Linked DNA regions of Homo sapiens: all the other regions are linked to region 1. The links are contacts of gene promoters, found by promoter capture Hi-C in blood cells and fetal thymus (Javierre and others, 2016). All regions are on one chromosome and are shown on one strand. Each heading gives the region's core, a stretch centred on a gene start or on the middle of the fragment in contact. The rest is flanking DNA. Distances are from core to core; before and after follow the strand shown.

Region 1 (3,519 bases), core at 330-2,829:
TTTCTTCTCCCTCTAGGATACCACAGGCTGGAGTTCTTTTAACAACAAAAGTGTATGCACAGATACTCAGCTGTCATTTTTTTCCTTCTCTGATGTTTGCTTTTGTCTTCCTGGCAACCCCATGTATTCTGCAAGAACCATTCTACTCAAAGAAAACACTCCGGTTTTGGCTGGGCGCTGTGGCTCACGCCTGTAATCCCAGCACTTTGGAGGCCGAGGTGGGCGGATCACCTGAGGTGAGGAGTTGGAGACCAGCCTGGCCAACATGGTGAAACCCTGTCTCTACTAAAAATACAAAAATTAGCAGGGCGCCGGTGGCTGGCCTGTAATCCCAGCTACTAGGAAGGCTGAGGCTGGAGAATCGCTTGAACCCGGGAGGCGGAGGTTGCAGTGAGCTGGGATCGCGCCATTGCACTCCAGCCTGGGCAACAAGAGTGAAACTCTTACTCAAAGAACAAACAAAAACACTCCGGTTTTAAACAGACAAAACGCAACGCTTCGGTAAAGCATGAGCTCTTAAGTCAGCCAGGTAAGTCTCGTCTTCCTCATTTAGCCACGCTATCTTGGGCAAATCACTTCATCTTTCTAGGATTCAGCGACTGTAAAATGCAGAGGGCAGTAGTTAACTTCCTCACAAATCCTAATCACGAGAATTAAATGAGAGACGAAGTAAATCACTTAGCACAGTGGCTAGTACTTCCTAAGGGCTTAAAGGGCAGCTATTATTTCTGCTTTACTTTTATACCACTCCTACAAGCACAAAATTTCTTCCATTCCTGTGGAACCAGCTTGCAGGCTTAAGATGAAAATAATTTGAGGACTAAAGTATTTTTATTTCGTTATTCCTACAGATAAACAAGGGAGACGTGGGAAGTTGGAATAACTTACCAAACCACCCAGGGCCAGCACCTTACACAGTTTAGATAAAAACGCAGGTCAGACTCCACGGCCTTGGATTTAAGCATACAGCACCGTGCTGCCTCACTAAGGAAGCTGGAAGCATTTAGCTCCCTTAGTTCAGAAGCCCAGCAGGGCTAACGTATTTATAGCAAGGACCCTAGGGCCCGGAAAAGCTACTGGCACACAGCAGGAACTCCTTAAACAAACTAGCGCCAGCTGACCCACATCTAAGTAAATGCCCTAGCACATCTTCCTTTCCTATAGGAGGAAAGTAGGGAAAAAAAAGTCTAGTAAATGTTAATATTGTTTGTATCGTAATTTTTAGTCAAACGAAGGCACTGAATCCACATGCAAGTTTCTCTTAGAGAGAAGGTGAACGTTTGCATTTGAAGGAGTGATGCCTGGAAGCGCTATTTCCAAACTCAGAGAATCCTCCCACACCAAACCCTCGCAGCAAGGTTCCAAGTCTCCTCTCTCCACTTCCAGGCCCCTTGTACCCGCTCAACGCCCAACCTCAACGTCCAGCGCCCAACGTCTGGCCCCCAACGACCGAAGCCCCCTCCCTTCCCCTTCATGCAGGCCCTCTCCCTCCCCTATACGCCTGGGAACCCTGACCTGGAAAGAGGCAAGAGGACCGCGGATCCGAACCTGTCTCTGCGGTCTGGCGGTGATGGCGACTGCCGATGCTGGGAGCCCTGCCGCCTGGGATGCGCCCTGCACTTCCCTCGCCTCCAATCCCCAGTGCGCCCTCCTGGCCTCAGCGCACGCCTGCGCACTCCGCGTCCACGTGCAACTCAATGTGCCCACGTGTTCCCTCCGCCTTCCCCGGAAGCAGCTTGTGCTCTAGTTACAGGCTCAAAAAGTTCCTTTGCAGAAACTTTTATTTTGTTCTAGCTTCTTCTAGAAAGATGTCTCTGGCAACGCCTTTGGCAAATTTGGGCGCAAAGATGCAGACTTTGTCTCCTCGAAGGTCACTTGGGTCACCGTGGCCACTTAAAGGTCTTCCAAGGTTTTCCAAATAATCAACAGCCTCTGCCTGGTCTTGGAAAGTAAACACACACGTGCTCATACTTTTTTTCTTTGCTTCCTGACTGAGGGCATGTGATTATACCTGTTGGTGTTACTTAAAGACAAGCTTTTTAAGTTTTGTTTTTTTTTTTTTTTGCTATGGAACTTTTCTAACAATTTCATAAGGGAACCCTTGTGTGCCTATCATCTAGTTTCTACCTTATCAATTCATGGTTAATCTTGTCTACATCTGCAGCCCAGGCACTCTTCGGGCAATGTTTTGAAGCAAATCCGAGAATTGTAAATGTGAGACAAAGTAGCGAACGTCTGCTTCTGGCCCCCAGCATAGTCCTCCCTCACTGTGAAAAAGCCACGTTTGTTCACTGTGTTTGTCAGCATTTCAGACCCCTTGACTTAGTAACATCTCAGCCCTCCAGAAGAATGCCTTGAAGACTGCGGAGAGAACTCAGGTTCCCACCTCTCAGAGTCACTGCATTTTTAGAAAAGATACTTTCAGAGATCTAGGCCTTGCCTTTTTCTGTACCTAACGGACAAGATTAATGATGATGCCTAGACTTACTCTCGCACCCAAACTTTGAAAATATTTTGATCTTATATAGCTTCTGGGCACTTTTAATGTAACCCCTGGGCAGAACCTCTACCACCTAATATTTAAAGTGTGCTGACCCACTGCTTTGGAGTAGTTTAACAGAAATTCTCTGGGCTCTCCCTGGTTGCAGTCCTCAGTAAGACTCTGAATAAAACTAACTTCACTAACTTCAATTCTTTAAAAGCCTGATTTTTTTTCTTTAGTTGATGTGTCTTTTAAATTTATTTTTTAGAGCAGTTTCAGATTTACAGAATAGTGAAATGAAAGTGCTGACTGGGCGTGGGGGCTCATGCCTGTAATCCCAGCACTTTGGGAGGCCGAGGCAGGCAGATCACTTGAGGTCTGGAGTTCGAGACCAGCCTGGCCAACATGGTGAAACCCCGTCTCTACTTAAAATAAAAAAATAAAAAAAAATTAGCTGGGTGTGGTGGCAGGCGCCTGTAATCCCAGCTACTTGGGAAACTAAGGCAGGAGAATCGCCTGCACCCAGGAGGCGGAGGTTTCACCGAGCCAAGATCACTGCCACTGCACTCCAGCCTGGGCAACAGAGCAAGACTGTCTCAAAAAAAAAAAAAAAAAGAAAAAGAAAGAAAGAAAAGAAGGTGCTGTACAGAGTTCTGACAGAAGCCACATCGTTTCCCCTATTATTAGCATGGTCTGTTAGCATGATACATTTGTTATAATTAAGGAACCAAGGAACCAACATTGATACAGTATTAACTAAAGCCCATCTTTTTGATTTCCTTCGTTTTTACCTACTGTCCCTTTTCTGATGCAAGATCTCATCAGGATATCATATTACATTTAGTTTTCATGGATCCTTAGGCTCTTCTTGGCCATGGGACTTCCTTAGACTTTGTTTTGATGACCTTGATGTCAAGTTTCCAGGAGTACTCTCAGGCCTTTTGTAGGATGCCCTACTTTTGGAATTTGTCTGATGTTTTTCTGCTGGTAGGAAAGGAGTTACGGGTTATTGGAAGGAAGACCACAGAGGTAAAAAT
Region 2 (3,519 bases), core at 359-2,858, 480 kb after region 1:
TATTAATAAGGTAAAGGAATAAAAGAATGGCTACTCCATAGGCAGAGCAGCAGCTTAGGCTGCTGGACTAGGGATACTCATAGTTATTTCTTGATTATATGCTAAAACAAGGGGTGGACTATTCACAAGTTTTCCAAGGAAGGGGTGGGAAATTCCAGGAACTAAGGAAGTTCCCCTTTTTAGACCATATAGCGTAGCTTCCAGACATTGCTATAGCATTTGCAAACTGTCATGGTGCTGGGGGGAGTGTCTTTTAGCATGCTAATGGCTTATAATTAGTGTATAATGAGCAGTGAGGGTGACCAGAGGTCACTCTTGTCACCATCTTGGTTTTGCTGGGTTTTGGCTGGCTTCTTTACTGCAACCTGTTTTATCAACAAGGTCTTTATGACCTCTACCTTCTGCTAACCTCCTACCTCATCCTGTGACTAAGAATGCCTTAACCTCCTGGGAATGCAGCCCAGTAGATCTCAGTCTTATTTTACCCAGCCCCTATTCAATATGGAGTTGCTCCGGTTCAAATGCCTCTGATACAATCCCTGAGCAACTTCACTGAGCAGGCCGCGGTTGTCAGGTGCAGTTCTGTATTCCAGTTAGGGCTCACCCAGGGATGCTGTCATTAAGTTGGAAAACAAGAAGGCATCTACTTTACAGAATATTTTGTGCCGCTGAGCACAAGTAATAACTTTTGGAGGTGGGGAGAAGGAATGCAGTTCAGAAGGAGGTGTCCAAGGAGGCAAAGTGACAACCTAGTGGCCTTGCACTCCGAATGGCATTATGGTGTCACCTTCCAGCTTATCTGAGGGTGAACTGGGAAGAGGGGAGGGAGCTAAGAAGGGAAAGTCCTACTGCCAGGTCTCTACAATGACCATGGGAAGTCAGATGGTCACCTTGTTTCTCAACACATCATGAGCCTCCCTTCATCATCACCAATGTGTTTCTGGTTGGGAGGCAGATTTTTCAGATTAGAACCCAAAGTTTCTCAAAAATGGAGATAACTCACAGAGGAGATAAGCATAAGGCCACACATGCAGAAAATACCTGATAGCCTCTCTTGTCTCCTTTACATAGACTTAGTTACTTTCCAATATAGACTGTTATTAACACAATACACACTCACATATTTTCAAAACTAGTAAGTCAAAGTTTTAAAAAAATCCACCAGACAAAGACACTAACTTTGATATGTGGTGTTAATCAAGTTGGCCCTTTTGCTAAAGTTAATCTTAAAGGCTCAATCTAGGGTATATGATGACAACACAATATAACCACTATTTTTAAAAGAAAGAAGAAATGTCAGTGTGATAGCGGAATAGGAGGTTCCAGTTTTCATTCTTATATAGAAATACTGATTTTGGCAACTACACCTATGGACAAGAATACTTTTGTGAGGCCACAGGAGTCCACTGAGAGGTTTCAGCACACTGGTGGAGCAAAAAATCGAAGAGTGGATGCATCAAAGAGTATAATAAGAGCAGCTCACTTTACCCACATCACCCCTCCCCTAAGGTGGCACAGCTCAGTTCCAAGAGAGGTCCCTCCAGCTCACAATTCTCCCATGGGGGAAGTGAGAGTGAAGTGAGCACCCAGCTTTCCCAGCCCAAAAGGATGTTGTCTAGGAGACCCACTTCTGTTTCATCCCACCCAGAACACTGAGGGGAATAGTACGGCTGAATCGTCTGGGGCAGCCAGGAGCAAGGAGAAGCAGCAGCAGGAGTGCAAATAGTGTATGGTTATCAAAAGCCGGCTATAGATTCTGCTACCCAGCTCATGGATGCTACCCTAAGTCCCTCCCATAAACCCTGCAGGACAACTTGCCTATGTACCCCTTCAACCAGCTGATATGTACCTCAGTGCACAACAGTCTGTACACAACCACAGACAATGCTTGGATCTCAACAGCAGGTAGGGATATTAGCAGCCAGCTCAACTTTGATGGATTGAGAGAAGACATATAACTTTGAACATTTCAGGGTACTACCCTAAGGAATAAGCAGGAGGCTTTTAGCACAAGGTCTGCCTTTGCAGGACTGAGAGAACACATATAATCCCAAAGAGGGAACAAGAGGTGTGGAGCAGGTATATCTAGAGAAAAAGTGTGAGAGATCCCCAGAATCTCTAGCTAAGCTCACTGGCAAAGGTCTTTCTCTCCTAAAGCCAGTCAATAAAGACGGGAAGAGGTGACTGCTTCTTCAAGTGTGAACACACAATGCGAGGCTTCAAAGAACACAAATAATCAAGGAAATATGACACCACCAAAGGAACAAAATAAAGCTCCAGTGGCTGATCCCAAAGAAATGGAGATCTATGAATTACCTGACAAAGAATCCAAAATAATCATCTTAAAAAAGCCCAGTGAGGAACAAGAGAGCAGACAGACAAATAAATGAAATCAGAAAAACAACAAATAAACAAAATGAGAAGTTCAACAAAGAAATAAAAACCAATAAATGAACGAAACAGAAATTATGGAGCTGAAGAATACAATGTCTGAAATAAAAAATTCAATTGAGAGTTTCAACAGTAGACTTGATCAATCAGAAGAAAGAGTCAGTGAACTTGAAAACAGATCATTTGAAATTAATCAGTCAGAGGAACAAAAAGAAAAAGGAATGAAAAAGAGTGAAGAAACCTATGCAATTTATTGGACACCATCAAGTGAACCAATATATGCAGTATCGGTGTCTCAGAAGGAGCAAAGAGAAAAGGGTAGAAAGTTTATTTAAAGAAATTATGACAGAAAACTTCCCAAATCTGGAGAGGGAAAGGAACATCTAGATTCATGAAGCCCAAAGAACCCCAAACAGATTGGGCATAAATAGGTCTTCACTGAGACACATTACAATCACTGGTAAGAGTCAAAACAGATAAGGAGAAAATCTTGAAAGCAGCAAAAGAAAAGCAACTGATTTTTTTCCAAGATGGCAGATTGGAGGCATTGTTAGCATGCCTCTCTCACTTGGGAAGATAAAATAGTGTGTAGAGATTCATGCTGTGTACTTTTTTCCAAGAAGCAACACAGGAACTTAATAGGAAAACTGAAAGAAACCACAGAGCCTTTGAAAGAAGTGGTGGGCTGCAGCCTATACTGTGAACCAGGTAGAAAATTCTAAGTCCCTGGAGTGTGAGGGGGATAAACTGTCTCTGGGACATACATTCCCACTGGAGAACTTGGCAATCCAGGCCACAGGGAAAGGTCTTAACCCTACCCAGCACTGAAGCTGATTTAGTGAGCACTGGGGAATACATGAGAAGGAATAGCATTGGGATGTGCATTGCATGTGCTCTCGGTCTCCAGCAGGGATAGAAGGAAGTCATTCCAGGTCCTACCTCACAGGTGACCTTGTGGACATCTTCCAGCAAACTCAGTAGTCTGTCATAGGTTGAGAGAGGTTCCCAATTGACATTTGTGATATAATCTCGAGTGACGATGAACCCCCTTGGCCAGAACCGAGGGGTGAGTGGGCAGTGGGTTATACTCACGAGCACAAGAGCTGGGTACCTTTGTTTCTCAGGCAG
Region 3 (3,519 bases), core at 635-3,134, 460 kb after region 1:
CCACCACGCCCAGCTAATTTTTGTATTTTTAGTAGACAGGTTTTCACCATGTTGCCAAGGCTGGTCTTGAACTCATGACCTCAGGTGATCCACCCGCCTCGCCCTCCCAAAGTATTGGGATTACAGGTGTGAGCTACCACATCTGGCCTAAAGTAGGGTTCTTACCATGTCAACTGAATTTCAGAGCAAGCTTCCTGGATCCTGCAGCTAATTTAAGGCTATTCAAAGATCCTAAGACTAGCATGAAGTCTAGCAGGCTGGAAGTCACAGTTTATGCACTAAAATCCTTTCAGAGATAAAAGTCCTACTTCTTTCTTCTGTGGTATGGATCTCTATGATGATATCCAAGTAAAAAACAAGCTGGGATGTTTTAAAAGCTGTCATTAGCTCATCCTCAGTGATGAACAAAACAAAACCAGCAAGCATCCTTTAAGAGAAAAACAGAATTAGATATGTTATGTAAAAAATAAAAGGACTCTGGTTCTATCAGAATAAAATTTGGAAAATTAACTGGTTACATAAAAAGAACACAATAGGGGAAGAAAGAGAAACACTTTAAGAAAACACTGTCCATGGTTATGAAAAGTACCTTACAACTGAATATGAAATGTGGTCCTCACTCCTGGTAAATATCTCAAAAGGGTGATACCTAGCCTGCCCCTAAATTGAACTCCTATTTTTCAAAATGAACTTAATATCTGCTTCCTCCTTCTGGATTTGAGTCCGCCAATATTAATTTCTCCTTCTAAGCAAAAGAGCTTAGCTAGTCTGCCCCTAAAATGAACTCTTATTTTTCAAAATGAACTTGGTATCTGCTTCCTCTTTCTGGATTTGAGTCAGTCAATATTAATTTTTCCTTCTAACCAAAATAGCTTTTTGTTAAACCCACATCTTCCCAGACCACAGATGTGTGTTTGTGAGTGACTATCAATTCAATCTCTTCTTAGGAGGATGAATTCAATTCATCCTCCTAAGAAGAGCTGGCCTTGGGAAAACTCCATCCATAGCTTAACTTTGAGGAAGCAAACCCCGATGATTAAAACATGTAACTGGAGACAGACAAAGAAAAGGTGCAAATGATTGTCTAGAAGGCATCAGGAGGAAAGCACCAGAAAAAAGGGGAGAGGGACTAAAAGTCCACTGCTTATAGATATATTCTGCAAGAATGAGAGTCCAAGAGATTAGGCTTCCACCTAAGCTGTGATGTTTTAAGGCACCTTCTTTCCCCTGGGGATTAAATCCCTTTCATCCCTATTCTCCCTTTGAGGCTACAGTGAGAGCCACCATATTGGTAGAAAGTGATTTGCCATCCTGTCCCCTTGACCTTGCAGCCACCACTGATTGGTCCAGGGGGCACCTGATCCCTAGGCTGGGTCAATCAGCCCTCTTCCCTGGGAATTTGAGAATTGAAATTGAGAAAAAGAGTCATTCTGTCAAGGTGGTTAAAATGAGAGTTGGTGGCCGCCATGTTTTACCATGTGGCTTGAGGAGCCAAGAGGACAGACTGGCAAAGATTGGGCAGAACAAAGCCAATGGATAAGAGAAATGTGGGAATGGAAGAGGAGAGTGGGTAACGTTCACCCAAGATTCCTGTGAGCCTGAGCGTTCCTTTAAAAAGAGAAATCAAGCTGGGCACAGTGGCTCACGTCTGTATTCCCAGCACTTTGGGAGGCTGAGGCGGGCAGATCACCTGAGGTAGGGAATTCAAGACCAGCCTGGCCAACGTGGCGAAACCCCATCTCTACAAAAATTAGCTGGGCGTGGTGGCTTGTGCCTGTAATCCCAAGCTACTCGGGAGGCTGAGGCAGAAGAATCACTTGAATCCGGGAGGCGGAGGTTTGAGTAAGCCGAGATCATGCCATTGCACTCCAGCCTGGGTGACAGAACAAGACTGTCTCAACAACAACAACAACAAAAATCAGATTCCACCATCACCACTTAAAGCCCTCCCAGGGCTCCCTGTGAAACTCCGTTCCAGGGTTTCTGAAGCCTTCAGGGTGTCCCTGCTGGCCTGTCGGCCCCAGTCCTGGTGCAGCTCTCCCCTGCACGGCTCAGACCTGCTTGCGGAGGATCACAGGGCATGGCAGGACCCAGGGCACCCACGATGGCTCCCACCCGGTGGAGCTGGCCACTATCCCTGGGTCTCTTGTCTCTGCACACAACAACCCTAGTTCATTGGGCATCATGCTGCTTGCTCCCTCAGGCCAGGACCCTGGAACGCTCAAGGTACATCATCTTCTGACCTGTTGTCCACCATTGCCTCCTAACTGGCTTCTCTCCAAAGTGAGCTTTTAAATAAAATGGTAAGGCCAGGTGCGGTAGCTCGTGCCTGTAATCCCAACACTTTCCAAGGCCAGTGTGGGCAGATCACTTGAGTCCAGGAGTTCGACAGGGAGAAACTTGGTCTCCACAAAAAATACAAACAAACAAACAAATAAATAAATAATTTTAGCCAGGCGTGGTGGTGCACGCCTATAGTCCCAGCTGCTTGGGAGGCTGAGGTGGGAGGATCACTTGAGCCTGGGAGGCAGAGGCTGCAGTGAGCCGAGATCGCGCCACTGCATTCCAGCCTCGGCAACGGAGACCCTGTATTTAAAAAAAAAAAAATATATAAATCCAGTCAGATTAGTTCCTTGCCCAGAGCCATCCAGTGGTTTTCCCATATGCTGGGAAGGAACTCCAGGGTCCTGACCACAGCCCACAGGGCCTACATGAGTTACTACCCCTATTATATCCACTTTTTCCTTCCCACTCCTGCCTCAGCCTCAGGAGTAGCTGGGATTACACGTGCACGCCACCATAACCGGGCAATTTTTTTTGTATTTTGTTAGTAGAGATGGGGTTTCATCATGTTGGCTAGGTTGGTCTCGAACTCCTGACCTCAGGTAATCTGCCCACCTCGGCCTCCCGAGGTGCTGGGATTACAGGTGTAAGCCACCACGCCGGCCCCTGCTTTAATTTTTAAATTCATCACCTGACCTCAAATTACAGAGCTATGTTGTCTCCTGCTAGAGTGTAAACTCTATGAGGGCAGGACCTGGACTACTTCACTGCAGTTCCCCCAGCTTCTACAACAGTGCCAGACACATAGCAGGTGCTCAACAGTGTTTTGTGAATGAGTGAAGAGCGTTTCGTGCTGAAGAAACACCACAGTCAGAGGCCCTGGGCCACCTCTGTTTAGGTGATCAGCTAAATGGAGCTGCCGTCCTGCCTGGTGACCAGCAGGACATGTCAGGGGCAGGTGAGGGAGGGGCAGGCACACTGGTACCCGCACTTCCATTTTGCCAATTCTTGTTGCAAGGCTGCTGCAGAGACACTCATTAGGTACAGCCTCATTAGGCTCAAAGCTCACATATAGGAAGAGAACAGATTTCTGAGAGGGAGTTAATTTAGGGCAGCCCGAACGCAGGACAACTCTTGCTTGAGTATTTCTTTCAGGTGGGAGACCTAATACTACCTGGAAACATTTTTGGAGTAATAAGTTTTCTTCCCTCATTTCCCCTGACTCTCCCATTTCCA
Region 4 (3,519 bases), core at 598-3,097, 410 kb after region 1:
TAGAAAAATACTGCCCTTAGGAAGCTCTCCATAGCCCCCTTAGAACAAAGAGAGTCACTTGTGGCAATGATTGCTCAAAAACCCTAAGGCCTACCTAAGTTCACCGTTAACCCATGATGGAAACCTTCCTTCCAGTCAAGCCAGTCTTCCCATTGGCCCCCTGCAAATGGTGCTGTTCCATCGCCATGTTCGTGCTCTCTTCTTCACCTCGAGTGCCATCTTTCCTTTCGGCCTACTGAAATCATGTTCAGGCCTGGCTGAAGTCCCACAGCCCACTCTGATCACCTCAGCTACGGCAGAGCTCTCCTTTCTCTCAATTTCCATTGCATAGTTTTTTTACTTATTTATTTATTTATTTATCTTTGGTCTTTTTAGCTGTTTTGTCTGCTTTACTAGACTTTACTTATCATAAAGTACCTAGCAAAGGCCAGGCCTATAACTGATGCTCAGTACACATCTGATTGGTTGGCTGAACTATCATAAAAGACTGCATCCCAGGAAACAGAAATATGAAAATATTTTGGTGAAAGAAGAACTCTGTGCTCAAAGGAGCTTGGGAAATGCCATGTGTTGTATCTGACTTGACTATTTACAATGCACCACTGCATACTAAATGCTCTGAGAATTCTGCTAAGAAGCTTGTTTAACTTATTTTAACTGGGTGTTTCCGGAACTTATTTGACCCCAGAATGTTTCTTTTATATAAACATACGTCACCATCTTACGGAAAACCCCCAGTTTGGGAAATGACGCAGCATTCCCACCCTCCATTCTGTCTTCCTATCTCTCACTTCCATTCTCTTCTCTCTATAGTCCATGGCAGATATAGCTGCTCAGTTAATACTAATGGAGGATAATTCAGGTTTTGAGATTTCCCAACTCAGAAGCCATCGCTTCCCCTATGCTGTCTACAGAATGAAGTCAACTTGGCATTCAAGACCCATCATGGGCTGGCCCTTTTCTTCTGTTTATCTCCCACTATGCCTTTCACGCACTCTAGGTTGCAGCCTCACTGAACTATTCCCCATACATGTATCAAATGGCACTTCATCCCAGAAGCCTTCCTTGACTCTGATAGAGAAAATCTGTTCTTTTTCTATTGCTTCCAGAGCACACGGACCACGTCTTTTGTGCAGCGTTATCCTGTGGTAACTGACAAGACTATGCACTCTGACAGCAGGGTGATGTCAGGCTCATTACTTTAGCCACCATGCCCAGTACAGTACAGTGACTAGTGCTCAGAAGGCATTCAGTAAGGGCTTCCTACTGATCAATAGACTGATCGATACACAGCACACAACTGATCACCCAAGGACCTTGGCTCATATTATTCTTTCTGCTAAGAATGCAGAAAGACTCCTCAAGGCAATCCCCCACATCCAAATTTTACTCATCATGTATGGCCTAATGTCATCTCGTCCCTGAAATCTTCCTGATCTTTTGTTTGAAAGTCATCTCCTCCTCCCATAGCTCATGCACCCCTGGTATTTTATAAGCATCTCTCTTCAGCATAGAACCCTCTGTCTTGTATTACAGCTGTCTCCTAGTCAAGTGTCAGCACCATGAGCACGTCATCTGTATTTGATTTACTTCTGTGTTCCCACTGACCATAGCCTAATATTGCACGAAAAGTGCATGGCAGGGTTTCAGTAAATATTTGTTAAAGAAACAAATGATGAATGGACAAGAAGGGGTTACCTCTAAAAGAACACTTCGAGGAGTAAGATAATGATTCTCTTCCTTCACATCTTGAGTGGCTTCTGATAAATCTTGTAGGTGAGTTTGCCTAAATCCTGGAGAACTTTGTTCCATTAAATGCTGAAGAAAAGAGATAAAAATGCTTTGCTTTTTCTTTGCAAGAGATAGAATTAAATCACATGCATTCTAGAAAAGCCGTAATAAATTAGTTGGGTTAAAAAAGACCAGAGGGTCTTCCAAGATTACATCCAGAAGCTCACACAACTTGAACTTGCCTCTTGAGTCTGGGTCACCACTGAGGATGAAAACATATAAGCACATCACTCAGGCTTTTTTTCTCTACCGTTTGGAACAGTCACTCAGAACAAGTGGTTTTCTCCTGTGGGTGGTATTCTTTTTTTTTTTTTTTTTTTTTGAGACAGAGTCTCACTCTGTCCCCCAGGCTGGAGTGCAGTGGCGCGATCTCGGCTCACAGCAACCTCCACCTCCTGGGTTCAAGTGATTCTCCTGCCTCAGCCTCCTGAGTAGCTGGGAATACAGGCGCGCATCACCATGCATAGCTAATTTTTGTATATTTTTTAGTAGAGATGGGGTTTCACCATATTGGCCAGGCTGGTCTCAAACTCCTGACCTCGTGATCCACCCGCCTCAGCCTCCCAAAGTGCTGAGATTACAAGCATGAGCCACCATGACCAGCCCTGTGGGTAGCATTCTAAGTCACTAAGCTCTGGAGTTGCTACCCTCATCTTTTTCCTGTAATCATCCAGTGCCATCTAAGAATGTAATTAACCCAGAATCAAGGCGTTGCACCTTTCCTGTTCCTGCTCCATATTTTTCTTTTGTGTTCTGTTCACACACTTCTATTGTTTCCACAGCAATGGAATTTGGTTGTGTTGATCATATGATAGTATGAATTATGGGTTTCCAGGTGATCTAGATTCAACCACTATTGCCTCCCCTTCCCCATAGATACAGAATATTCTACTAAAGTAGCTTCTTTGCATGGCAGAAAAATTCCAAGAACAATGCCTCAGAGCAGGGGGTTTGGAAAAGACCCTGAATGTTCTCTAGAAAAAAAGTCAAGTTTTAAAATACAGGTGTGTTTAAGTTCTGTCCATGTTTTAAGTTCCAAGCTCATGGAGCCGGATCATGCTGAGTTGGGGGTAAAGGCAGCCCACTTAATTTAACCAACAACAACACCACCCAGCAAGGCAAACAGTACTGTTAACTCGAGCTGGTTTAAAAATCACTGGATCTATAGTGTGAAAAGGCAAAGTGACCAATAATGTTATCTCTAGGGGGAGGGAGATATCATGAGTGAAAAGCAAGAGGCACTTACAGACAAGGGTGAAGCTTCCTAACTGCTGCATACCACCGTTTCTACTCGCTAAATGAAGAACTGAGGTGAGGTGTTTGGCATGGTGAATTTGATATGCTACAAAAAGCTTTCAAAATAGTTGGAGAGCTACCAACTAGATAAAACAAGGGACTAGGACTCATTAGATGTGCTTGGTATACATGGACAGGGTAAAGTCAATGGATAAGTCTCTAAGAGACAAAATAGTATCCGTGCCAGAGAACAAAACCACTCAGCATGTTTATGACTAATATCCCAAGTTGGGAACATTGCAAATCCAAGAAAGCTGAAGGTCCAATTACAAGTCGCTTTCAAGAGGCAGGTACATTATATTTTATGTCTTCAAATGGATTTCATTAGAAATGAGGAAGAAGTGATAGACAGCTATAATGAATGAGAAGCGAGATTGATCAGGGTAAAGGGAAGAGATTAACAAGAAACTCAGCCTTTGCCTGAGGAGTACA
Region 5 (3,519 bases), core at 439-2,938, 350 kb after region 1:
AAACTTGATACACACACATATATACATACCTTAATAATATATACAGTATATTATTGTAGCTTGACTAGTCTAAGGTCACGCCTTAGACCTTGAGAAACACATTTCAGTTGTGGGGTCTCTGTGAAGTGTTGAAGCTTAAGACGAGGTCCTTGCCTTTAAGGAATTTAGAGTTTCCTTAGGAGGCTGGACAAAAGCTAATATATATAAAATACTTAAGAAATTAATCTGTGTGGTTTCATATCTTGAGAAGCCTGAGATTTAGGGTAGATTGAAATTGTATGATCTAGTTGGTGAAATAGAACACACAGGAAACTAATTTAGAAACAAAACGGTATGTAAAGTCGTAAGTGATGAATTGGACTGATCTTTAAACAACTTATTTGATTTAAATCAAACTTGGTTTTACATAAGTGCTACTTCTGCGTTTCAGACTGAATTTGCGGGGTTTAAATCCTGGTAGAACTATAGTAGATTATGTAGAGATTCAGAAACACCACTTTGTCCCAAATATGATAGGCTTTTTTTTTTTTTCAAAGGAAAAGGAAGTTTAGCGAAGTCAAATTTCATTATCTGTATAAGCCCTTCTGTTATTTCAACATGGAAAGCAAGTGCTTAAGATCATAAAATGGCATCAAAGCAGGGCTTTAATACACCATTAGATAATGTTACTAAACTGTTTTTTAAGTTTGTTTGAAAGGACTGTTACAAATTTCCTGCTGAAGCCCTGAGCTCTGATTACATATCACATGGGATAAACAGATAAAATTGTAAAATAAACTAAAAGCAACAGTATCTGGAAGCAGGGAATAAAGCCCAAATATCCTTGTTTGCTAAGTCAGCCAGTTTTTTTTATTAGTATCTTTTATCTGTGGAGAGTGCTGAACTCTATTTTTTTTTGAGACGGATTCTTGTTCTGTCTCCCAGGCTGGAGTGCAGTGGCGTGATCTCGGCTCACGCAACCTCTGTCTCCCGGGTTCAAGCGATTCTCGTGCCTCAGCCTCCTGAGTAGCTGGGATTACAGGCGCACGTCACCATGCCTGGCTAACTTTTGTATTTTTAGTAGAAACGGGGTTTCGCCATGTTGGCCAGGCTGGTCTTGAACTCCCGAAGGTGATCCGCCCACCTCGGCCTCCCAAAGTGCTGGGATTACAGGCGTGTGCCCGGCCCCCAAACTCTATTTTAAAATGTTTTTAAAACAGTTTTATTGAGAAATGATTCACATACCATACGATTCACACATTTAACCTGTACGACTCATTGGTTGTTATTATATTTACAGAGTTGAGCAACCATCACCACAATCAGTTTTAGAATACTTTTATCATCCAAAAAGAATCCCTAGACTGGGCACGGTGGCTCACGCCTGTAATCCCAGCACTTTGGGAGGCTGAGGCGGGTGGATCACGAAGTCAGGAGATTGATACCATCCTGGCCAACATGGTGAAACCCCGTCTCTACTAAAAATACAAAAATTAGCTGGGTGTGGTGTTGCACCCCTGTAGTCCCAGCTACTCGGGAGGCCGAGGCAGGAGAATCGCTTGAACCTGGGAGGTGGAGGTTGCAGTGAGCCGAGATCGCGCCATTGCACTCCAGCCTGGGTGACAGAGCAAGACTCCATCTCAAAAAAAAAAAAGAAGAATCCCTGGACCCATTAGCAGTCATGCCCCAGTTCCCTACCACCTGCCTTCTTTGGTCCTAGGCAACAACTAATTTTCTGCCTGTATGGATTTAACTGTTCCAGACATTTCTTATAATAGAATTATATAACACATGGCTTTTTTCACTTAGCATATTTTCAAGGTTCGTCCATGTTGTGGCATGTGTCAGTACTTCATTCTTTTTTATGGCCAAATTATATTGAATTGCTTGAAAATGCCACATTTTGTTTACCCGTTCATCTGTTGGTGGATATGTGGGTTGTTTCCACTTTTTGGCTATTATGAATAATGCTGCCATGAACATTGGTGTATAAGGTTTTGTGTGGATATACATTTCATTTCTCTTGGATATATACCTAGGAGTAGGATTGCTGGGTCATATGGTAACTTTAAACTTTTTGTGGGACTGCCAAATTGTTTTTCAAAGTGCTGCATCACTTTACATTCCCACCAGCAATGTATGAGAGTTCCATTTTTTCCACATCCTCACCAACACTTGTTATTGTTTTTGCTTGTGGACATCTTGGTGAGTGTGAAGTGGTATCTCATTGTAGTTTTGATCTGCGTTTCCCTAATGACTACTGATGTTGAGTATCTCTTCACTAACTGTTTTGAAAGGGAACAATGTATAGAAAGCTCAATTAAATGGATGTTCTAAAATGTATTATTTAAACCCAAGCAAAATAGTTTTATAGACTTTGGCCTTGAATTGCTATATGATTATGATGTTTAATCATGGGAAGCCTACAATTTTGTTTCAATGAGAATTATTTGAATTAATAATAGGGTAAAGTTAAAAGGCACAGCAGCATTGCAGGTGTCATGAAGTGGTTGTATGCAGTGCAGGTAGGACAGTTACTGCTCCAGATTGCAGAAAGTAATGAAAATGAATTCATAATTGTCAGTTGGAATGGAAAACTTGAGATAGGGGAGTTTTAAATATCAAGGTAGATAACATCAGCTGACCTCGAATAAGCAATGTCATTTTTAAAAAGTGTTGATGTGAATATATAAAATGTAAATCTTTAGTTTTTAAACTTTAAAATTGCAGCAGGCTCTTATAGATCTTCTCTGAAAGTTGGATAATGAAATTGATAAATTATTTGAGTTACTTTTAGCTCAGAGTCTATAATTATATAATTCCTGGTTAAGATCAAGTTTTTTAAAACATACATAGTAAAAGCATAGAGTTTTAAACAACCCAGCTATTCACATGTCATGCGAATAGATAAGCAGCCAAGAAACTTATCTTTTTGTTTCCAAGGTCTTGACTTTTATATAAGAACTCTATTCTTATTCCAGGTTGTATCCTAGTACTTTATTCATATGTATTAAAATTTTTAACAGGTTTTTGACAAAGAACAGGTAAGATAAGTCAGGAGTCATTAGAAGTTCAGCACAAAGCGTTTTTGGTCAGCGTTTGAAATCCCTGGACGAGAGGAAACAGATGGGTTTGGTTACATTATCGTTGCTGTGCCAAATAAACAGTTGGGGAAAACATTAAATATCCTTTTGCTACATATCAGCTTGGTGTTTGATGTTAACAGTGGTAGCCTTTTCATCTAATTTAGTGATAGAAGCTTGAAAATGTTTTAAAATATATAACATAAAAAACAAAGTTTATTTGAATCCTCATCAGGTGACTTAGTTTATTCAGGAAACATTTGCTGAATGGTAGTTATGTGTAAGACACTGTGACGGACAGAGGACAGGGAACTTAGATTCATTCCTTTGGGAAATCTTCAGGGACAAGGTAGCATTTGAGGTGCAATTTTATTTTATTATTTGTTTATTTATATATTTTTCGAGATGGAGTCTGACTCTGTGGCCCAGGCTGGAGCGCAGTGGCACTATCTCCGCT
Region 6 (3,519 bases), core at 1-2,500, 350 kb before region 1:
AAGCCTAAGAATCTCGTTTCAGTACAAGCTTATGCCTCAGGGACAATCACTGTCGGTTTCACATGCAGACAATAGTGAGTGAATGCAAAGAAATGGTACTTTCCTACCTGCATTTAAAAAAAGAAAGAAAGTAAATCTACTCCCCCTCCTTTTTTGGGAACATGGACTGGCCCATTGTGGTTGCTGGTGTGTTGAACTAGTAAGTAAAGCGAGGAGAGGAGGCGTGAGAGAGCGTGCCTGCCCGCCGCACACGGGGCTGGTTTCCGGAGTGCGTCTCTAGAGGGATGCACGTTGCCTTAGCCGAGCTTCGGAGAGAAGCCTGATATGTAACCCAGGCAGGTGGGAGCCTCAGTCTGTCGGGCTGAGGTCTGGCATCTACAAAGCCTCTTGGCCGTGTTCTGAACTTGAAGCCTGGAGGAGTTCTCTGCTCAGCACAGCCAAGGAACAGAATTAGAAGAAAAGGAACCCTGGCCTGAGGTAAAGCGGACATTGCACAAGGTGACCTATGTCCTTTGCTTTGCGTGGCAGATGTGAGATTTCTGGCTTCCTTCGTGAGGTCGGAGGCCGCTCGGATCCTCCAAATGTGGTGGCTGGATGCTGGCGACAGAAGTCACTTTTATTGCCCTGACATACATTTATGTAAACTTTTTGTTTTCCTGATGATACAAAAGAAACGACAGGAGCTTTTGTTCATCGATACAGAACTAGACTGAAGGGCAGGAAAGGCTGGTTATTTATTTCACTGAGAAGTGTAGTGCGTTGACCTTTTAAACAAGGCTTATGTTTTTTTAGGCTGCTACCCGCAAGATTGAAAGGAGACTGTGGTTTTCAGACTTTGGGGTTGTTTTGTTTTGTCTGTGGTTTGTAGAGCTCTGTGAAATTTACATTTGAGTCCTGTTTGGGGGATTTGGTGGTGGAAGTGGCACGTGGGAATGAGTAGATTTAGCTATTACTGTAAATTATGAGATTTTTTTTTCTTTAAGAAATACCCAATAAATGAAAATAAGGAAACAAAATGTTTAGATGTTATTCATGTTTTATTGCGGCTCTAGGTTGAAAGAGCTTGACAATTGCCTCTCTTTCCACCTTTGATATGCAGTAAAAGAAATCTAGAGATTCTGGCCTTTATATTGAAAATAGTTTTCCTAAAAACCCAGTTATTAATCGAATCATACTGTAAAGACTTTTTTTGGGGGGAAAGTGTTTTAAAATGTGCTATACTAGCATGAAAGAAGAAATGGGACCAGAAAGTTATTTCATCTGTGAAAAAAATAGATTTATGATGTTGGAAAAGAAAAAAAGAAAACGTGAGTTTGGCCATAAGCCAGCAGGAGTGTGGTCGCTATAGCAGCTTCATTTGTCACTTAGCTGAGATTGGAGACTTAAAAGAAAACTGAGCCTGTTTTTCTCTCAGACAGCCTCATAAGGAATGTTAAGAGGATGTGAAGTTATTTAGATTACCAAAACAGGTTCTGACAAGTAAGTGAAAATAACTCATTAAAATATAATTGTTGCCATTCTATAAATGGATCAAAAGGCTTGTTGAGTCACTGCGTACTTATAGAATAGGTGAATTTGCCACGGCTCATTGGTATAAATTACTTTTGAGAAGGCTTTTTAAGACTAAGCGTGAGGCCTTGCCAAGCATCCCTTATAACACTTAGAATGTTTTGACCAATGTTTTCGAGGCGGTTGCCTAAGCATTTTCATGTGTCAGTGAGTCTAATCCTCGCATCAGTGGCTTATCCAGTAAGCTCAGGGAATATTATATCCTGACAACAGAAGCCTGCAGATTTTTCTCTTCAACTAAACAATAGCTCACCTAAAAGGACAGAAAGTGAACTACTCAGTTCTTGTAACCTGACTTTCTGGAGGGATGGTCATGATTTTGGCTCCTGTAGAACAGGGTTTCTCAACCTCAGCATTATTGACATTTTGGATGGGATTATAGTTTGTTGCAGGGGACTGTCTATGGGATGTCTAGTAGCATCCTTGATCTCTACACACCAGGCGACAGTAGCACTCCCTCCCCAGCTGTGAGAACCAGAGATATCTTCAGACACTGTTAAATATTCCCTGTGGGCAAAATGCCCCTGGTTGGGAATCACTGCTAGAGGGAAACCTGTCTTGGGGCCTACTGCTGCCAACGAGGGGGAAGGGTCTATGAGAGGAGGCTGGAGTCCCAGGGAGGCCTGGCGGGGTCCAAGGAACAGTGGCAGGACAGGTGTTTTTGCCTGACCATTTGGTTTTTATTTTGTTTGGGTTTTGTCTGAAATCACATCTTGGGAATGGGGTATCAGATTCAAGGACTTGCTGCGGATATACATTCTTCTGCCCCCTTTTCCTTCTGTGCCCTTGTGGGACTTATTTTATACAGTGCTATGATTGGTATAGTAGTCAAACTTCTTTCAATTGAATTCTAAAGTGCATTCTGGGGATATACTATTTTGTCTTTTTTTAAAAAGAAGCTTATACAGTGATCCATTTTATAAAGCAAATAGTTACCCATACTTTTCCCTTCTGTAAATATAGAGTTTTTTGTTGTTGTTGTTGTTTGTTTGTTTGTAATGTGGGTTTTTAGTAAATCTGGCCATGCCTGTTAGTTTTTTTTTCTTCTAGAATCTGCAAGTGAATGCTTTCATTTCTTTTTTCTTTTCGCCATCTGTACCAGTGGGTCTCAAACTGTTTTGATTTTTTTAGGAATTGGGCCTTGTTTTGTGAGTGCAATTGAAGAATCACAGCTTTTTTCCAATTTACAGATAACGATGAAGTCAATGGCTGGGATTTTTTCCGTTTAAAATTTTTCTTACACCTTTAGCATTAATGCTACTGCTTGTTTGCTCTCAAAGGTTTACAGATTACAAAATGCATGAAGCTGCGAGTGCTGCTTTTTCTTGGTGTTTCTCCAAGAATATAGTACATTGCACTGAGCACCGTGACTTCCAGGAGCTACCACCACCACCCAAACCAGATGAGATGTACCACTGCATAGTGCTTAGTGGTGCTTAGCATTGGCTGAACAGATAGGGAAACACCTTGACTTATTGAAGTCTATTCTTGGTGACAGACCTGGACTGGCCCATAATGTTATCAGAGAGCTGTGGTTTCTGCTTTTGATTGCAAAGCAAATCTTGCATTTCTCTCCACCTGGAGGTACCAATGTGACACACACCATGTGCTCTCTAAGTAACAGTTCTTCGTAATTAAAATTCACCCTCTCCCCCCATTCAGTAGACCAAAGATCCCTGAGTGCAGCAAATGTGAGCATTTTAGGTCTATTTGCCCCCAGGATATAGCACAGTGCCTGCTCATACTATTTGCTCAGTCATTGATGAACAGACAAATGAATGTCAATGATTTCTATGGAAAGACCACCCAGGAGCTTGGTCAGCAAGCCACATGTCTGCAGCCTGTGTCCATATTTCTGTAATTTTTTAAAGAGGACAAATCCAGTCACCATCTAAGCAGGTTTTAATGTCTGAGGGGCTACCAGAAAACTCTTTGAAGGATGCAGGAAGA
Region 7 (3,519 bases), core at 583-3,082, 340 kb after region 1:
TGCAAGATAACATTTTGCCATTTTCTTTAGTATCATTTATCATTTACATAAATTAACAGCTTGTATTCCATTCAGATACTAGAGGTCGGTTTTATCTCCCCCTACCCCTCTTTAAACTAAGAAATCATTCAGGCTTTAGATATTAAAGGTTTGGAAGACTTTTTTTTCTTGGAAATGGCCTCCATTTTTCCCTCTTTTTTTCTTTTAATATAAAGTACTATCAGCATTCATGTTGTCAAAACACAACTGTCAACTCTGCTTCTTTCTACTTTCCATAGAATGTTAGCCCACTGTAACATAGAGGTCATAGATGAAGAGAAAGAAGACTAAATCTAGGTTACCTAAAATCCAGGCCAAGCTATTACATTAGGTTGCCTTTAAGTTTTTGTCTGCTAACTTTGCTACTGTTTTTTTTTTTTAATTGCCAGTTTGAATTCTGATTTTTTTTTTTTTTGAGACAGAGTTTCGCTTTTTTTGCCCAGGTTGGAGTGCAATGGCACAGCCTCAGCTCACTGCAGCCTCTGCCTCCCGGGTTCAAGTGATTCTCCTGCCTCAGCCTTCCAAGTAGCTGGGATTACAGGCGCACACCACCACACCTGGCTAATTTTTGTATTTTTAGCAGAGACGGGATTTTGCTATGTTGGCCAGGCTGGTTTCGAACTCCTGACCTCAGGTGATACACCCGCTTCGGCCTCCCAAAGTGCTGGGATTACAGGCGTGAGCCACCATGCCTGGCCGAGTTCTGATTTTTAAAGTCAACTTTATGGGGTTTTCACCATAGATCACAAAGTTAGCGTCAAGCTAGTATCACATAGTTCAATGTCTCAGGCATACAAAACAGTCTTACCAGGCATAATATTCCTAGGGTTCAGAGTTCATTTCCTAGGAGCCAGCCAAGGGCCAGTCCTGAAGACATGCTTTTCTTGGGAATGTTTGGAGTTTGAGCAACCTGGGTCTGCCTTTCCTGCACACCAGTTCTTTTTATGATGTAAATTTCCTTGAGTTGAAGTGCCGCATTTCCTGTAGTGCAATGCTATGTCATTGTGGTCAGCTAATAAAGCGTGCTAACTTGTTGATATTGAAATAGATACTGTTCCTTTAGGTGCTTGCCTGTGTTATGAACATTCCTTTGACATTTGTGTTCAGCTGTCCAGGTGCTGTCATGATCCTCTTTTATCTTCCTAATGGTACTGTCATATTACACACGGGAGACTTCAGAGCAGATCCCAGCATGGAACGTTCTCTTCTTGCGGACCAGAAAGTCCATATGCTGTACTTAGATACCACGTAAGAGAGGCTTTTTTTGTGTGTTTCCTTTTCCCACTGACAGCCTTTGCTCTCTGTATTATGGTTATCAAAATGATGGCTTATTGCCAATTATTATTTTAAGGCTCTTTATCAGAGGGATGCTGTTTGAAAAATATGTATATACTTGCTTAAGGGCAAATTTGAGATTGTATGTGTTAACTGACTACAGCTCATTTTTTTGTGTGATTTATTTTTGAAAATATGTTACATGAGAATCCTGTTACTAAAACAAGGAAGAAAAACTTAGGAGCAAACTTTAGGAAGACACCCTTTTAAGTTGTCCTTTCAGAGTAACTGTGTAGCTATTAATTGTGAAGAGAAGACAGAGGTCAAAATGTGATTCTGTTTTTGAGTATCCAAACTTGCTGTTGTTCTTTTCTTAAAAAGATAATTTATAAGTGACAGTTTTGAATTCCTGAGTGCTATAAATATAATGGCACAAGCCATTACATTTTAACTGTGTATGTATTTCTCCCTAGCTTTATTAAGTAAATAAAAATTGTATATATTTCTGGTGTATGATGTGATTTTATATATTAAAATATCTCATCAACTTGTTAGAAATTATCTTAACCATTTCAACCTGTTTCAAGGAGAAGTACGTTTGGATGCAATATTTTAGTAAAAGATGGTCTTTCCGCATCCAGTTTTCTCACACTATAACTGGTTTTTCCATTCTTCTATATGAGTTTTAAGCACTGGATAAATTAAGAAAATAAGTTTTTAAAAAAACCCTTTTTTGTTACCTAGTTCTATTCTGATACGATTCTGAATTTCCTCATGGGTTGTTATAGGAGAAAGGTTATTCTTACTCTTCTCTAGTAGTTGACTAGCAAAACAATTCTGAAAATTGGGAAAAATATGTTTCTTTGGCTTTTGCAGTTTATTACATTTTTAGTGAAAAAGTGCTTACTTTTCATATCAAATATAGATAGATAGATAGTAGCTTAATTTTTCACTGGGTTATATTGCATGGAGATAGACCCAACTGGATCTGTTGTATTTGCATGTATCTGTGTGTGTGTGTGTGTGTGTGTGTGTGTGTGTGTGTGTGTGTGTACACATGTACATATATATACACATAGTATATATATTTTGTATCTGTAAGAAATGATATTAATATCAACCATGTCAATATTAACTGATTTAAAACTGTTTCACTAAATTCATATTTAGTTTCATTACTTTAATCATTTTTTATTGACAGTCTTTAGTCCAAATATAATCCTTATCAATATGATTTTTTGATAGTGTTTGGAGTTAAATAAAAGACAGTGAGGTTTATAATTTATAACTAAAATAGCTGGCTTGCTAGAAATATTCTTGGAGGAAAAAAGTCTTCAAAAAGACAATTTTTTGAGAGTGATAAAAGAAATATAATGAAAAAGATATATTGAAAACTTACAATTTGATCTTAAGTTAGTAGTAACTGGCAAATAATTCCAACCACAGGCAGTGAGATAACTTGTGGTATTAATATATTACATTGCTGTTGTATGTAAGTTGCTAACGCTTGTTTTCTAAAATAGCATCCAGCTTAAGGTGATGGCTTTTTTATTGTTCTTTTAGTAAGTACCATGTTTCCATACCACAGATATTGTAGCCCAGAATACACCTTTCCATCTCAGCAAGAGGTTATCCGGTTTGCCATCAACACTGCCTTTGAGGCTGTAACTCTAAACCCACATGCTCTTGTTGTCTGTGGCACTTACTCTATTGGAAAAGAGAAAGTCTTCCTAGGTGAGTTGTAGGTGTATCTAATTTACATTAATATATTATAAAGATCAGATTCTTTTTGCATAATGCCCTTTCAGTTTCTACTCTTGCATTTGATAATTATTTCCTGTAATGATTCAATATTACCTTTGAAGTTGAAGGAAAATTTGACAGTTTGAAACATTTAATCTTTGAAAGGTTTGACTTTAGGGAAACATTTGATAATTGTGTTTAATTTAGGCTTTCTAGATATAAGAAATTTATAGAGCAGCTGCCCATGCTACATTGTTATTTAGTAAACTTTGAAAGATGATTAATGCATAGTTGTATTGCTGCATTCTTTGAGGATAATAATTACATTGGCAATCAGTTTTAATTTTTGTTCCTAAATGATTTCTGGATGTATAACTTAGTTTGTCCAGGTAGTATTGTACTAATTTGCAAAATACTTTCCATTTCTTCTTACGTATGGCCACATTATATCAAACATTAAAG

What was found. Contacts are between HindIII fragments. The CHiCAGO score rates a contact against its expected background, and 5 or more counts as called.
Region 2: a fragment that was not itself captured here is called in contact with the fragment with the promoter of TDRD1 in region 1 in 2 of 17 cell types (fetal thymus and naive CD8 T cells); the score reaches 6.2 in fetal thymus.
Region 3: a fragment that was not itself captured here is called in contact with the fragment with the promoter of TDRD1 in region 1 in 1 of 17 cell types (naive B cells); the score reaches 5.5 in naive B cells.
Region 4: a contact is called between a fragment that was not itself captured here and the fragment with the promoter of TDRD1 in region 1, in 1 of 17 cell types (monocytes). The highest score is 5.8, in monocytes.
Region 5: a contact is called between a fragment that was not itself captured here and the fragment with the promoter of TDRD1 in region 1, in 3 of 17 cell types (neutrophils, monocytes and naive B cells). The highest score is 5.3, in neutrophils.
Region 6: a contact is called between a fragment that was not itself captured here and the fragment with the promoter of TDRD1 in region 1, in 1 of 17 cell types (naive CD4 T cells). The highest score is 5.0, in naive CD4 T cells.
Region 7: a fragment that was not itself captured here is called in contact with the fragment with the promoter of TDRD1 in region 1 in 6 of 17 cell types (activated CD4 T cells, non-activated CD4 T cells, naive B cells and 3 more); the score reaches 5.7 in activated CD4 T cells.

What each region holds. Positions count from the first base shown.
Region 1 is chr10:114,177,413-114,180,931 of GRCh38, reverse strand. It overlaps TDRD1 (tudor domain containing 1), which reads right to left and starts at 1,579. Exons shown (of 25, transcript NM_001395205.1): 1 at 1,516-1,579. The HindIII fragment of the contact is 8,256 bases long and covers 1-2,037 here.
Region 2 is chr10:113,692,527-113,696,045 of GRCh38, reverse strand. The region is part of intron 1 of CASP7 (caspase 7); the gene reads right to left. Among named protein-coding and RNA genes, the nearest start is that of CASP7, 14 kb to the right of the region's middle. The HindIII fragment of the contact is 5,855 bases long and covers 1-3,519 here.
Region 3 is chr10:113,713,892-113,717,410 of GRCh38, reverse strand. All of the region lies in intron 2 of CASP7 (caspase 7), which reads right to left. Among named protein-coding and RNA genes, the nearest start is that of CASP7, 36 kb to the right of the region's middle. The HindIII fragment of the contact is 3,383 bases long and covers 193-3,519 here.
Region 4 is chr10:113,770,269-113,773,787 of GRCh38, reverse strand. PLEKHS1 (pleckstrin homology domain containing S1) reads right to left here. Exons shown (of 13, transcript NM_001395068.1): 8 at 1,699-1,818. Among named protein-coding and RNA genes, the nearest start is that of MIR4483, 6.0 kb to the left of the region's middle. RefSeq lists an enhancer at 1-1,174. The HindIII fragment of the contact is 2,413 bases long and covers 641-3,053 here.
Region 5 is chr10:113,823,186-113,826,704 of GRCh38, reverse strand. No RefSeq gene overlaps it. Among named protein-coding and RNA genes, the nearest start is that of DCLRE1A, 29 kb to the left of the region's middle. The HindIII fragment of the contact is 3,104 bases long and covers 137-3,240 here.
Region 6 is chr10:114,523,618-114,527,136 of GRCh38, reverse strand. All of the region lies in intron 6 of ABLIM1 (actin binding LIM protein 1), which reads left to right. Among named protein-coding and RNA genes, the nearest start is that of AFAP1L2, 120 kb to the right of the region's middle. RefSeq lists enhancers at 1-218, 389-508. The HindIII fragment of the contact is 2,440 bases long and covers 31-2,470 here.
Region 7 is chr10:113,841,872-113,845,390 of GRCh38, reverse strand. DCLRE1A (DNA cross-link repair 1A) reads left to right here. Exons shown (of 9, transcript NM_014881.5): 5 at 1,147-1,287; 6 at 2,903-3,048. Among named protein-coding and RNA genes, the nearest start is that of DCLRE1A, 10 kb to the left of the region's middle. The HindIII fragment of the contact is 4,432 bases long and covers 1-3,519 here.